3 separate regions of the Homo sapiens genome follow, and regions 2 and 3 are each linked to region 1. The links are contacts of gene promoters, found by promoter capture Hi-C in human tissues and cell types (Jung and others, 2019). All regions are on one chromosome and are shown on one strand. Each heading gives the region's core, a stretch centred on a gene start or on the middle of the fragment in contact. The rest is flanking DNA. Distances are from core to core; before and after follow the strand shown.

Region 1 (3,970 bases), core at 605-3,104:
CTATAATTTTCCAAAAAGTAAACTTTTAAGATATATGGGCATAGCAATTCAAATATGAATAATCTATAATTCCGTTACCAAGTGAGATTTTAGGTGTTTTCCAACCAAATGTGCCCAAATAGTAACTCTTTGTTGGTAATTTTTTTTTTTTTTTTTTTTTGAGACGGAGTCTCGCTCTGTCGTCTAGGCTGGAGTGCAGCGGTGCGATCTCGGCTCACTGCAACCTCCGCCTCCTGGGTTCAAGAGATTCTCCTGCCTCAGCCTCCTGAGTAGCTGGGATTAGAGGCGCCCACCACCACCACGCCCGGCTATTTTTTTTTTTTTTGTATTTTTAGTAGAGACGGGGTTTCACCATGATGGCCAGACTGGTTTCGAACTCCTCATCTCAAGTGATCCGCCTGCCTCTGACTCCCAAAGTGCTAGGATTACAGGTGTGAGCCATCGCGCTCCGCCGGTAATGTGCTTCTTAATCGTCCCATTCAAATCAGCAAATTATCCTAGTAACTGTCATGCAATCTTCTAAATTATTTTGTTCTAATAACAAGATATATCTAAGTTTATTCTCCTATATAAAGTGCTAAAATTAGACACATAAATAATTGCTTTCAAGTTTACTGCAATTTGTTTACTTTGGGCCTCTCCAACTGTTTTCTCTGAGCTTTTTCTGTTGCAAAATAGAATGGAGAAGGAAATGTTGGGGTCTTTTGCCAATCTAACCGTGCTTCCCTCCAAGGGTAATCACTGGTGTGTCTAGGTATACCTGGAAGGTTAATGCAATTACAGCCTAAATCGATATAGCCCACAGCACATTTATGTAAACATAAAGCATAAGAACATTCCATGCCCAGGTCTGGTCTTCTGCATCTCCATCTAGGGGGGTTTCTCAACACAGGTACTACTACTGGCACTTGGGGCTAGATAATTCTTTGCTGTAAGGCGAAGTTTAGCAGCATCCCTGGCCTCTCCATGCCAATAGCACCCTCCTTACAAGTTGTTGCAACTAAATATGTCTCCAAACATCGCCACCGGTTCCCTGGGGGCATTCTGTCCCTCGCTATGATTTTTTAAGTGTTCCCCCTTACCCCTCTTAATAACCACTGTCCCACAGTGATATAACCCTGATGTGTGAGTTTTCCCCAAGTGACAGCTATGTTTAATTTAGGCTTGAAGGGGAAACTTAATTAAGGAGCTTTTGAGGACAAACAGAGACGTCTTGGAGGAACCGTCTAACATACGATCAAGAAAAGCAACGTTAGACTACTAAGACACCATAGTATTTAACAATGAAGTTCCAGGTACTGTAATAAGTGTTCTATCTGCATTAGCTCCTTTCTTATACTTTTATTCGCTGGGGAAACTGACGCTCCGTGATAAACCAAGGAGCAGAGGCTGCAGCGGATAAAGTGAAGGTGGGGGGCTAAGTGCGCCGTCCTCCCGCTCCCCCTGGGTTTCACGGTCTCTTTCTCCAGCACTTGAGTACCGGAGTGACCTTCAGAAGTCTCTCCAAGGACTCGCTTCAACTCCGCTCTCACGTCCTGCCCCTCTCTTCAGGTTTCCCGGTGTTAGGTCTCTTGTGCTCACAGCATGAGCTGGGCCTCCAAAGCCTGACCCAGTCTGCAGCCCACTTGGCCCGCAGGGTTCAGCTGAAGGGCAGACCGAATCCCAAGGCCCAGACCCCAGACCAGACACCTCCGCCTCGTATCACCTTGTCGACACACTGCTCCCCAGCCCTTTCCCAAACCCGCCACCTGAGCTCACCGAGAAAGAGCCGGCTCTGGTTAGTAGCTTCATGATTCAAGATTGTTCTGACACACGGTCACTGCCGGATTAAAGGAAAGCAAGATGGTGGCGGAGGCCGGGAGTTTCCCAGCGTTCCCCGCTAACACTTTCCCACGTCCCCTTCGTGAGGTACTCTCTATACTGCCGCGCTCTACTGCTCTCTTTATAAGGTTGGACCAGTCCAATTCCTCCAAGACTCAGAATAGGGAGACGCACAATTTCCCAAGTAAATATATGCAGAGAATAATGTACGTCACTGCTTTTTGCGTTCTTCTCCTAGCCTGAATATCCAGTATGCACCCCTTTTCTAAGTACGTCTGCAGCAGCCTGTCACAACTCCCCCCGCTATCTTGGGCTCTTCCGCTCAGCATTGTCCAATGGGACGCGCCTCTCTTGGGACTCCGCATGCGCCCTCCGGGATGACACCTGCACTGGAGGCCCTGGGTTTCCGCGTTCCTGGACGTTGGAGGCTTCAGGAGATTCCTGCCACTCCACCTTTCTGCAGAGGTATTGGGTATCGAAGCCCGGCGTAGTTGCCTCTCGCTGGGTGAAGTCCTTACTGGATCTTTAGCTCCGTGAAACAGGGGCCTCGTTCAACGTATTCGCCGCTGTGTCCCCCAGAGCAGGCCCGGGACACACCGGGAGGGTCAGCAACCTCGGGGAATCATCACAAGGCTTTTGGTCTCGTGGAATTTACGTCCTAGGCTGGGGCTACATAGAATATAAAAACTTAGCTATAGTTTTTGTGTTAGGAAAATAGAAATGTTTTGGATAGTAGGTGTGTTATGTGAGCCGAAACCGGCAGTTGGAGAAAGTCAGTCACGTGACGACTTGGGGCGGGGGCGTTCACTCCGGTCCTCAGCGAGTGTTAACCCAGAAAGTGCCTTGAGCTAGGCACTATGCCAACGCGAGAGGCGTGGTCCCTGCCCTTTAGGGACTTTAGAGTTTCGTACCTTGCTACGTTGCTTGGTTGGGAAACCGACAGTATCAGCATCAATATCATTTAGGAGTTGATTAGAAATGTATGAACTCCAGGTCCCATATTGGATCCGAATCGGTGTTTTTACAAGATCCTGGGATGACTTCGTATGCACAATAGTTTCAGAAAGGCTGGTGGTGTAGACGTTACAAGGCATAGGCAAATGTACTTTCTTTTTGCCTTGTGTCTGAATTGCTCCAGGCCTACAACGGACTTGGGCTCTCTAATTAAGATCTGGGCATTAAGAACCTGGCACCAACCCAATTTCTGTGCCTGCTGGGGACGCCCTCAACCCAATTCATACCACACAGTTTCCCCACATGTGGTAGATTTAACACTAGTGGTGCGTGAGATGATTTTAAGTTGGTACATAGATGAACACTTCCATTTTTTCCTTTTAAAAATTTGTATAAATTTAAGGGGCGCAAGTACAGTTATGTTATATGGATATATTGCAGTAATGGTGAAGTCTGGGCTTTTAGTGTACCCATCACCCGAATAATGTACATGGTACCCATTAAGTACTTTCTCATCGTTCACCTCTCTCCCACCCCTCCACCTTTCGGAGTCTCCATTGTCTGTCATTCCACACTCTATGTCCATGTGTACACCTTATTTAGCACTGTTCCATTTTAATAATATATTTATTTTGATTATGGCAAGCAATGCTAGTAGTGAATTTCCTCTTTAAGTACATTTATAAAATAATAAAAGTTGGTGTAAAAACGTTAAGTAACTTGATGATACGGAGATACAGCAAAAATCATGAATGTGTTATACAGGTACCATTGAGTGAAATCTGGGAAGCAGTGCTCTGATCAAGCCACCTGCCTGCTTAAAATTCTTCAACGACAGCCACGTTTTTCAGGATAAAATTCAAATTCATTAACATGGCATACAAAGCTGTCTCCAGTACTTCAAAACCCCAATTCCCAAGTTAGCTAGCTGCACCCCTGAGTCCAATCATTGTAACTTCATCATTCAACAGTTCAGGTCAGGTAGGAGGAACACAAAAGTCTCCACACTCAAGTGCACACACACACACACACACACACACACCCACACCTGCTTATAATGTCCTCTCATTCTTAGGTTATGACCCAATATCAGAAAGGGGCAAAAATAAATTCTGTTCAAAATGTGGCAGGATTTGAAACATAATTCATGATATCAGCTACATAAATCATAAAATCCCAAGTTTGTCAATTGCAA
Region 2 (3,970 bases), core at 1,021-3,520, 330 kb before region 1:
TACAGGCATGAGCCACTGTGCCCAGCAATTTTTTTAGTTTAAACCACCCACTCTATAGTATTTTGTTTTGGCAGCCCAAGAAGACTAATACATTATGTAACAGAAAAAATATATATATAACTTGTCTATCAACTGATGAATGGATAAAGGCTGTATATCCACACAATGGAATATTATGTAGTAATAAGAAGGAATGAAGTACTGATAACACACTTCAACACAGATGAATCTTGAAAAAGTTATGCTAAATGAAAGAAGCAGATACAAAAAGCCACAAATTGTATACTCCCAGTTATATAAAATCTCCAGAATAGGCAAATCTATAGGGACAAAAAGTATAGTGGCTGCTAGGTTCGGGGAGGACTGCTAACTGGTACGGGATTTCTTTTTGGGGTGATGGAAATGTTCTGGAATTACATAGCAGTGATGATTGTACAACATTATGACTATACTAAAACCCACTAGGACCAGGTGCAGTGGCTCACATCTGTAATCCAAAGACTTTGGGAAGCCAAGGCAGCAGATTGCTTGAGGCTAGGAGTTCAAGACCAGCCTGGGCAACATAGCAAGACTCTGTCACTACAAAGAACTTTTAAAAATTGGCTGGGTGTGGAAGCAAGTGCCTGTAGTCCCAGCTGCTTGGGAGGCTGAGGCAGGAGAATTGCTTGAGCATAGGAGTTCCAGGCTGGAGTGAGCTATGATTGTGCCACTGCACTCCAGCCTGAGTGACACAGTGAGATTCTATTTCAAAGAAAAAAGAAAGAAAGAAAAGGAAAGGAGGCCAGGCATGGTGGCTCACACGTATAATCCCAGCACTTTGGGAGGCTGAGGCGGGCAGATCACCTGAGGTCAGGAGTTCAAGACCAGTCTGGCCAACATGGTGAAACCCCATCTCTACTAAAAACAGAAAAATTAGCTGGGTGTGTGCCTGTAGTCCCAGCTATGCAGGAGGCTGAGGCACAAGAATCACCTGAACCTGGGAGGTGAAGGTTGCAGGGAGCAGAGATGGCCCACTCCAGCCTGGGCTACAAGAGTGAAACTCTGGGCCAGGTGTGGTGGCTCACGCCTGTAATCCAGCACTTTGGGAGGCCGAGGTGGGCCGATCACTTGAGGTCAGGAGTTCGAGACCAGCCTGGCCAACATGGCAAAACCCTGTCTCTACTAAAAATACAAAAATCAGCTGTGCATGGTGGCACACCTGTAATCCCAGCTACTCAGGAGGCTGAGGCAGGAGAATCGCTGGAACTCGGGAGGTGGAGGCTGCAGTGAGCCAAGATTATGCCGTTGCACTCCAGTCTGGGCTATAGAGCGAGACTCCGTCTCAAAAAAAAAAAAAAAAAAAGAAAGAAAGGAAAGGAAAACCCCCCTACTAAACTATATACTTTAAGATGGTGAATTTTGTTATGAAAATCTCAATTCAGTTTTTAAAATTGCAAAAACCCCCTACAAAGCCGTAATATATAACCATTAAAATAACAATGTTCATCTTCATACTAGCTCCATAAATTCCCCTCCCTGGAAGAAGATTCAGCCTGTCATCTTGTCATAAATAACTCCCAGTGGAATGGAAATTAGGTTCCTCCCTGCCCAGCCCTGTTGCAGCCCAGGGGCAGGTCTGCCAGGCCCTACCTGATCTCTGCGGGTCCTTCTCCAGCCCGTAGCCTCCTGTGAACAGCATCTCGGCCTCCCTGGCCAGCATCATGTACCGGGGCTCGTCCTGCATTCCGTCGTACTCACCGCCCTCATCACAGTCCGTCATCTCCAGGGCAGTGTTGTACCAGTGCAGGGCCTCTAGCCAGTCTTGGCACCTTGCCAGGAGATACAGAGGGAAAGGTGGAGGTTACCATGGCAACAGGGTGGCAGGAGGAGGGCCTTCCAGCAGGAGGGGCAAGTCAGGGATCCCAGCAGGGCCACCACCTATGGTTCACGACCTATCTTGTCCAAGGCCAATACATCTATGAGGCACCTTCATACTGTGATATTCATTCACTCATTCATTCATTCATTTTTGAGACAGAGTCTTGCTCTGTTGCCCAGGCTGGAGTGCAGTGGTGCAATCTCGGCCCACTGCAGCCTCCGCCTCTCAAGTTCAAGCAATTCTCCTGTCTCAGCCTCCTGAGTAGCTAGGATTACAGGTGCACGCCACCACACCCAGCTAATTTTTTGTATTTTTAGTAAAGACGGCATTTCACCACGTTGGCCAGGCTGGTCTCGAACCCCTAACCTCGAGTGATCCACATGCCTAGGCCTCCCAAAGTGCTGAGATTACAGGCATGAGCCACTGTGCTCGGCCAATATTTATTAAGAGAGCAGTTGACCAGCCCAGGCAACGTAGAGAGACCGTGTCTCTACAAAAAAACAAAAACACAACAAAAAAACAGTGACTATAGTCAAAAATAATGTAATTGTATATTTTAAAATAACTAAAAGAGTATAAAGAAATTGTTTATACCACAATGAATAAATGCTTGAGATGATGGATATCCCATTTATCCTGATGTGATTATTACACATTCCATGCCCATATCAAAATAGCTCATGTAACCCATATACACACTTACTATGTACCCACAAAAATTAAAAAATACAATAAACACACAAAAAGCTGGGTGTGGTGATGGACACCTGTAGTCCCAGCTACTCCGGAGGCTGAGGTGGGAGGATAGCTTGAGCCCAGGAGTTAGAGGCTGCAGTGAGCTATGATCATGCCACTGCACTCCAGCCTGGGCAATAGAGTATAACCCTGTGTTAAAAAAAAAAAAAAAAAAAGAGGAGTCAAGTTGCTTTCCTTAATAAAATCAGTATATTACAACAATTTTCCCATAGATGAAAGTAAAGGGCAGCTTAGCTAGGACACCCCCTTGAGGAAGGGGCCCATTTTTACAGTCTACACAGAGGCAGCCATGAGCTAGCATTAGCAATGCCTGAGTGTCCTAGCTAAGCTGCCCTCTGACTTGTAGAGAAGTGGATTGGGGGCGGGGTCCTCTGCAGAGGCCTCTAGAGCCATCTGCACTAATGGCAATCACCGTATGCTCTGCTGTGCGGGACAGCTGTGAATTTTGTTATGTAAAATTGCCTCCAGCACAATGCAGAACTCACCCCAGAATAGTTGAGTCTCCACTTCCAGCTCTGCCCGTCGACCCTCAACTCCTCCTACTGCAGCCCATGTATGGCCAAACCAGCCAGGGCACACAAAGTTTCCAGCCAAACCCACGCACCACAGAATACACAGCAAACAGGGCGGAGGGCTCTTTTTCTTTGGGTGTAATCCGTGTGAGTAACTATTTATAGTATATCAGGAAAGAGCAAATACAGCGACACAGGTAAGAAGGCCTGTGGGTCTCGTGAAACATTCCAGAAGCAATAGGTCTGATGACTTGCTGTCCCTGCCTTGCTGCCACAGTGCCCTCTGCGGCCCTGTCTGACAGGCGCTGCCCTCCAGGACGGTCTCCTGTTTGTCTACCTTTGCACCAGGCTCACCGGCTGCCATCCATTCCCCAACGATGCCTGCTCCTGCCTGCTCTGTGGCCCTTGCACCCGCTGTTCCCTCACCTTGGAAGATTCTTCCTCCAACTCTTTCTGCACCTGGCTCCTTGCTCTGGTTGGAACGTGTGTCCCCTCCAAAACCCATGTTGAGATTTGCTTGCCATTGTGAGGTATTAGGAGTTGGGATCTTTGAGAGGTGATTGGGCTTTGATGGTTCTGCCCTCATGAATGGATTTCTGCCAGTATGAGGAAAGTGGATTTGTTATAAAAGGGCGAGTTCAGCCCCCTTTTGCTCTCTCTTTTTTCTTTTCTTGAGATAGCGTTTCACTCTGTTGCCCAGGCAGGAGTGCAGTGGCACAATCATAGCTCACTGCAGCCTCAAAGTCCTGGGATCCAGCAATCCTCCCATTTTAACCTCCTGAGTAGCTGGGATGACAGGGGCATGTCACCACGCCTGGCTAATTTTTAAAATTTTTTTATAGAG
Region 3 (3,970 bases), core at 641-3,140, 310 kb after region 1:
CACATTTGCCTGCCAGGGTATGCAAAGTAACTTACATCATGCTATCAGCAAAATGAGAATAATATAGTGGCTAGAGTAAGACCATAAAAGCCAAAATACAGAAAATCCAAAGCTGAAGGTTAAACAGAGGTAACTTCAGAACAAATAAGCCACAACGGACTCTAGATGTCAGTGTTGTGCCAAATAACAGCACCAGGGAAGATGTGGGCAACACATCTACTTTACAAGCACGTTTGTAATACTGATTTTTTTTCTTTTCTTTTTTTTTTTTTTTTGAGACAGAGTCTCGTTCTGTTGCCCAGGGTGGAGTGCAGTGGTGCAATCTCGGCTCACTACAACCTCCACCTCCCGGGTTCATGCCATTCTTCTGCCTCAGTTTCCCAAGTAGCTGGGATTACAGGTACGCACCACCACGCCCGGCTAATTTTTTTTTTTTTTTTTTTTTGTATTTTTAGTAGAGACGGGGTTTCACCATGTTGGCCAGGCTGGTCTCAAACTCAAGACCTCAGATGATCTGCCTGAAATGGCCTCCCAAAGTGCTGGGATTACAGGCGTGAGCCACCGCGCACAGTCTATAATACTGATTTTTAACCAATTTAGGAGGGAAATGTCAGATAGGAGGCATGGTACAAGGATATTTATGGAATTCATTACCACTTCACTAAGAAAACATGATATAAATTGTCCTTTGAAAGCTACTTTGGTATAAAAAAATCTAAAGTGCCCATAAGTATGCATTCATTATTAGACACAAATTACAACCTTACAACCTACTATGTTTATTTCATTAAAGTGTCTCTTTTAGGCCGGGTGTGGTGGCTCACGCCTGTAATCCCAACACTTTGGGAGGCTGAGGCAGGTGAATCATGAGATCAGGAGTTCGAGACCAGCCTGAACAACATGATGAAACCCGTCTCTACTAAAAATACAAAAAAATTTAGCGGGGTTTGGTGGCACACACCTGTAATCCCAGCTATTTGGGAGGCTGAGGCAGGAGATCACTTGAACCCAGGATGCGGAGGTTGCAGTGAGCTGAGATCACGCCACTGCACCCCAGCCTAGGTGACAGAGCAAGACTGTCTCAAAAATAAATAAATAAATAAATAAATAAATAAAATAAAGTGTTTCTTTTAAACTGGTATTGCCTAAGGTGTATTCTTTATAAAACTTAGAATTGTTAAATATTTTAAGATTCCTTTGAAAGTGTTTTTGCATTGATGGTTTAAATCAGTGATATCAAACTTTCCTGATCCTATGTGCCCAGAAAAATGGGCAGGGGAAAGGAGGCAGCATGGAACCTCATTTTTTTGTGTGTATCTGTGTGTACACGTGAGTGCACATGTGTATATGTGTGGGGCCACATGTGTTTTGTATACGGTATATGCATGAAAATGTACCTTTGTACCTTATACACAAAAACAAATTAAACAATGGCATAAGCAGCAATATAAATAAAAAATGCTAATACTTTCCTGCCATATTCCAAAATAAACTGTCTTGTGTACTCTGCAGTGTGTACTTCCCCACTCTGAGACCACTAGCTCAGGTAAAGTAATGAGCTTCTAAGCCAGACTGCAAAAAAGGGCAAGCACTAATACCATCGAAATGAACAGAAGTGTTGAATTCGATCATTTGCTTTTCATTTCTGGGAGTCATTACATTTTGGTACTGAATTCCAGGACTGAAAATACACTGTTCATTGTCTAACCAGGAGACAAAATCCCTCAGATAAACTAGTATTTGACTCACAATATGCCTTTCCCATGTAAGCAAGGACCGTGTTTCAAAGATTGATTTTGAAGCTGAAATACGGAATATACTTTCGCAAAGAGTTCCATTCCTCTAGGTCTTATATAAGAATATCTGGTGTATACACAGTATTCATTCATTTATTCATCTATCTCACCAAAAGTATATATTTTCAAACTTCAAAATAAGTTTTATTTGGGAAGAGTTTCTTATTTTGTTAAAGCTACAAGCAAGTTTCTTTCCCAATTACACTTCTAGAGATCTTAGCAGTTTCAGAGATTTCAGTGTTCAAAAGTATATTTCAAAATTAACAACAAAACCAAACCCACACCAAAAGGAAATAGCTTTGAGATTAGTTTGGGATGTACAGTCATTGATTTCAGGCGCCAACACTATTTACTGAGTGCTACACTATACAATCAAAGGCCTCTTTTGCAAACTATCCTCGGGTCATACTGAACTTGCTCCACCCCCACACAAACCTTACTCACACCTTCATGCTTTTGCACATGCTGTTCCCCTCAGCCTGGTAAAATGCTTCAGACTACAAACACAGCTCACCTCAACATGAAACCTTCCCTAACTCACCCACAGGCTAACAGATCTATTCGTCTCTAATTCTTCAGTACTTAGTTTGACATATTTCTTACCACAATTTCCTGCCATTATCTGTTTCTATCTATATTGTGTACTATTCTGTGTTTTAAGAGCAAAAGCGTGATTCTCATTTATCTTTATATTTCCACTTGGTACACAGTAGGCCCTCAAATGCCTTCTATAAATGCAATTGAACAATGTTTCTATAGAAAAATGTTCCTTCAGCATTTAAATTGAGATATGTAGCATACTTCAGTCCCTCACCATGAAGCTTCACCCCTTTCCATAAAGACCATTCAACAAACCCCAACAGTACTAATTGTCCTGCTATCTGAGCATCCAGAAAAGAATTAAACTGCAACTTTTTCTTTCTTCTTGAGATGGAGTTTTGCTCTTGACGCTCAGGCTGGAGTACAATGGCGTGATCTCGGCTCACTGCAACCTCTGCCTCCAGGGTTCAAGTGATTCTCCTGCCTCAGCCTCCTGAGTAGCTGGGATTATAGGCATCTGCCACCATGCCTGGCTAATTTTTGTATTTTTAGTAGAGATGGGGTTTCACTCTGTTGGCCAGGCTGGTCTCAAACTCCTGACCTCAGGTGATCTGCCCACCTTGGCCTCCCAAAATGCTAGGATTACAGGCATAAGCCACCGCACCCAGCCTAAGCTGTAACTTTCTGTTTAGATTTGGGTTTCCTATGACAATTAAAAAAGAATTAATACTGAAACAACTTGTTTTACTTCGAGCTGCAAAAACAAATTACCATAGACTGAGTGGCTTATTGAGAGGTGACAATGTGCTAGCAGCCCTCGCTCGCTCTCAGCGCCTCCTCGGCCTCGGTGTCCGCTCTGACCGCACTCAAGGAGCACTTCAGCCCGCCGCTGTGCTGTGGGGACCCCTCTCTGTGGCTGGCCGAGGCCGGACTGGCTCTCTGCTCGCGGGGAAGTGTGGAGGGAGAGGCACGGGCAGGAGCCGGGCTGCGCGCAGCGCACGCGGGCCAGCACAGGTTCCGGGTGTGTACGGGCTCAGCAGGCCCAGCACTCGGTGCCACTGGCTGGTGCCTGCTGGGCTTAATCAGGGGACAAGCTCCCTCTGGGCTGCTGGAGTGCCCAGGCTAGGTGCCACAAAGTCCCGCAGCCAGTGCCATTGAGAGGTGAAGCTGGCTGGGCTTCTGAGTCGGGTGGGGACCTGGAGAACTTTTCTGTCTAGCTAAAGGTTTGTAAATGCACCAATCAGCACTCTGTGTCTACTTAAAGGTTTGTAAACGCACCAATCAGTGCTCTGTGTCTAGCTAATGGTTTATAAATACACCAATCAGCGCTCTGTGTCTAGCTAGCCGGGTAGCAGACTTGGAGAACTTGTGTCTAGCTAAAGGATTCTAAACGCACCAATCAGCACTCTGTGTCTAGCTAAAGGTTTGTAAACACACAAATCAGCGCTCTGTCAAAACGGACGAATCAGTGCTCTGTAAAATGGACCAATCAGCTCTCTGTAAAATGGACCAATCAGCAGGATGTTGGTGGGGCCAGATAAGGGAATAAAAGCAGGCCAACAGAGCCAGCAGCAGCAACCCGCTCGGGTCCCCTTCCATACTGTGGAAGCTTTGTTTTTTCACTCTTCGCAATA

Evidence for each region. Contacts are between HindIII fragments. The study calls those that stand out against the background at their distance.
Region 2: a contact is called between a fragment that was not itself captured here and the fragment with the promoter of UQCRC2 in region 1, in 1 of the 25 tissues and cell types used here (spleen).
Region 3: a contact is called between a fragment that was not itself captured here and the fragment with the promoter of UQCRC2 in region 1, in 1 of the 25 tissues and cell types used here (spleen).

What each region holds. Positions count from the first base shown.
Region 1 is chr16:21,951,245-21,955,214 of GRCh38, reverse strand. It overlaps UQCRC2 (ubiquinol-cytochrome c reductase core protein 2), which reads right to left and starts at 1,854. Exons shown (of 14, transcript NM_003366.4): 1 at 1,759-1,854. The coding sequence starts at 1,791. RefSeq lists enhancers at 1,512-1,561, 1,572-1,741, 1,256-1,973, 2,062-2,521. The HindIII fragment of the contact is 13,220 bases long and covers 1-3,970 here.
Region 2 is chr16:22,278,036-22,282,005 of GRCh38, reverse strand. EEF2K (eukaryotic elongation factor 2 kinase) reads right to left here. Exons shown (of 18, transcript NM_013302.5): 17 at 1,630-1,808. Among named protein-coding and RNA genes, the nearest start is that of TRL-AAG2-4, 17 kb to the left of the region's middle. The HindIII fragment of the contact is 8,071 bases long and covers 1-3,970 here.
Region 3 is chr16:21,637,072-21,641,041 of GRCh38, reverse strand. The region is part of intron 4 of METTL9 (methyltransferase 9, His-X-His N1(pi)-histidine); the gene reads right to left. It overlaps IGSF6 (immunoglobulin superfamily member 6), which reads left to right. Exons shown (of 6, transcript NM_005849.4): 6 at 1-1,492. Among named protein-coding and RNA genes, the nearest start is that of IGSF6, 14 kb to the left of the region's middle. The HindIII fragment of the contact is 5,696 bases long and covers 1-3,970 here.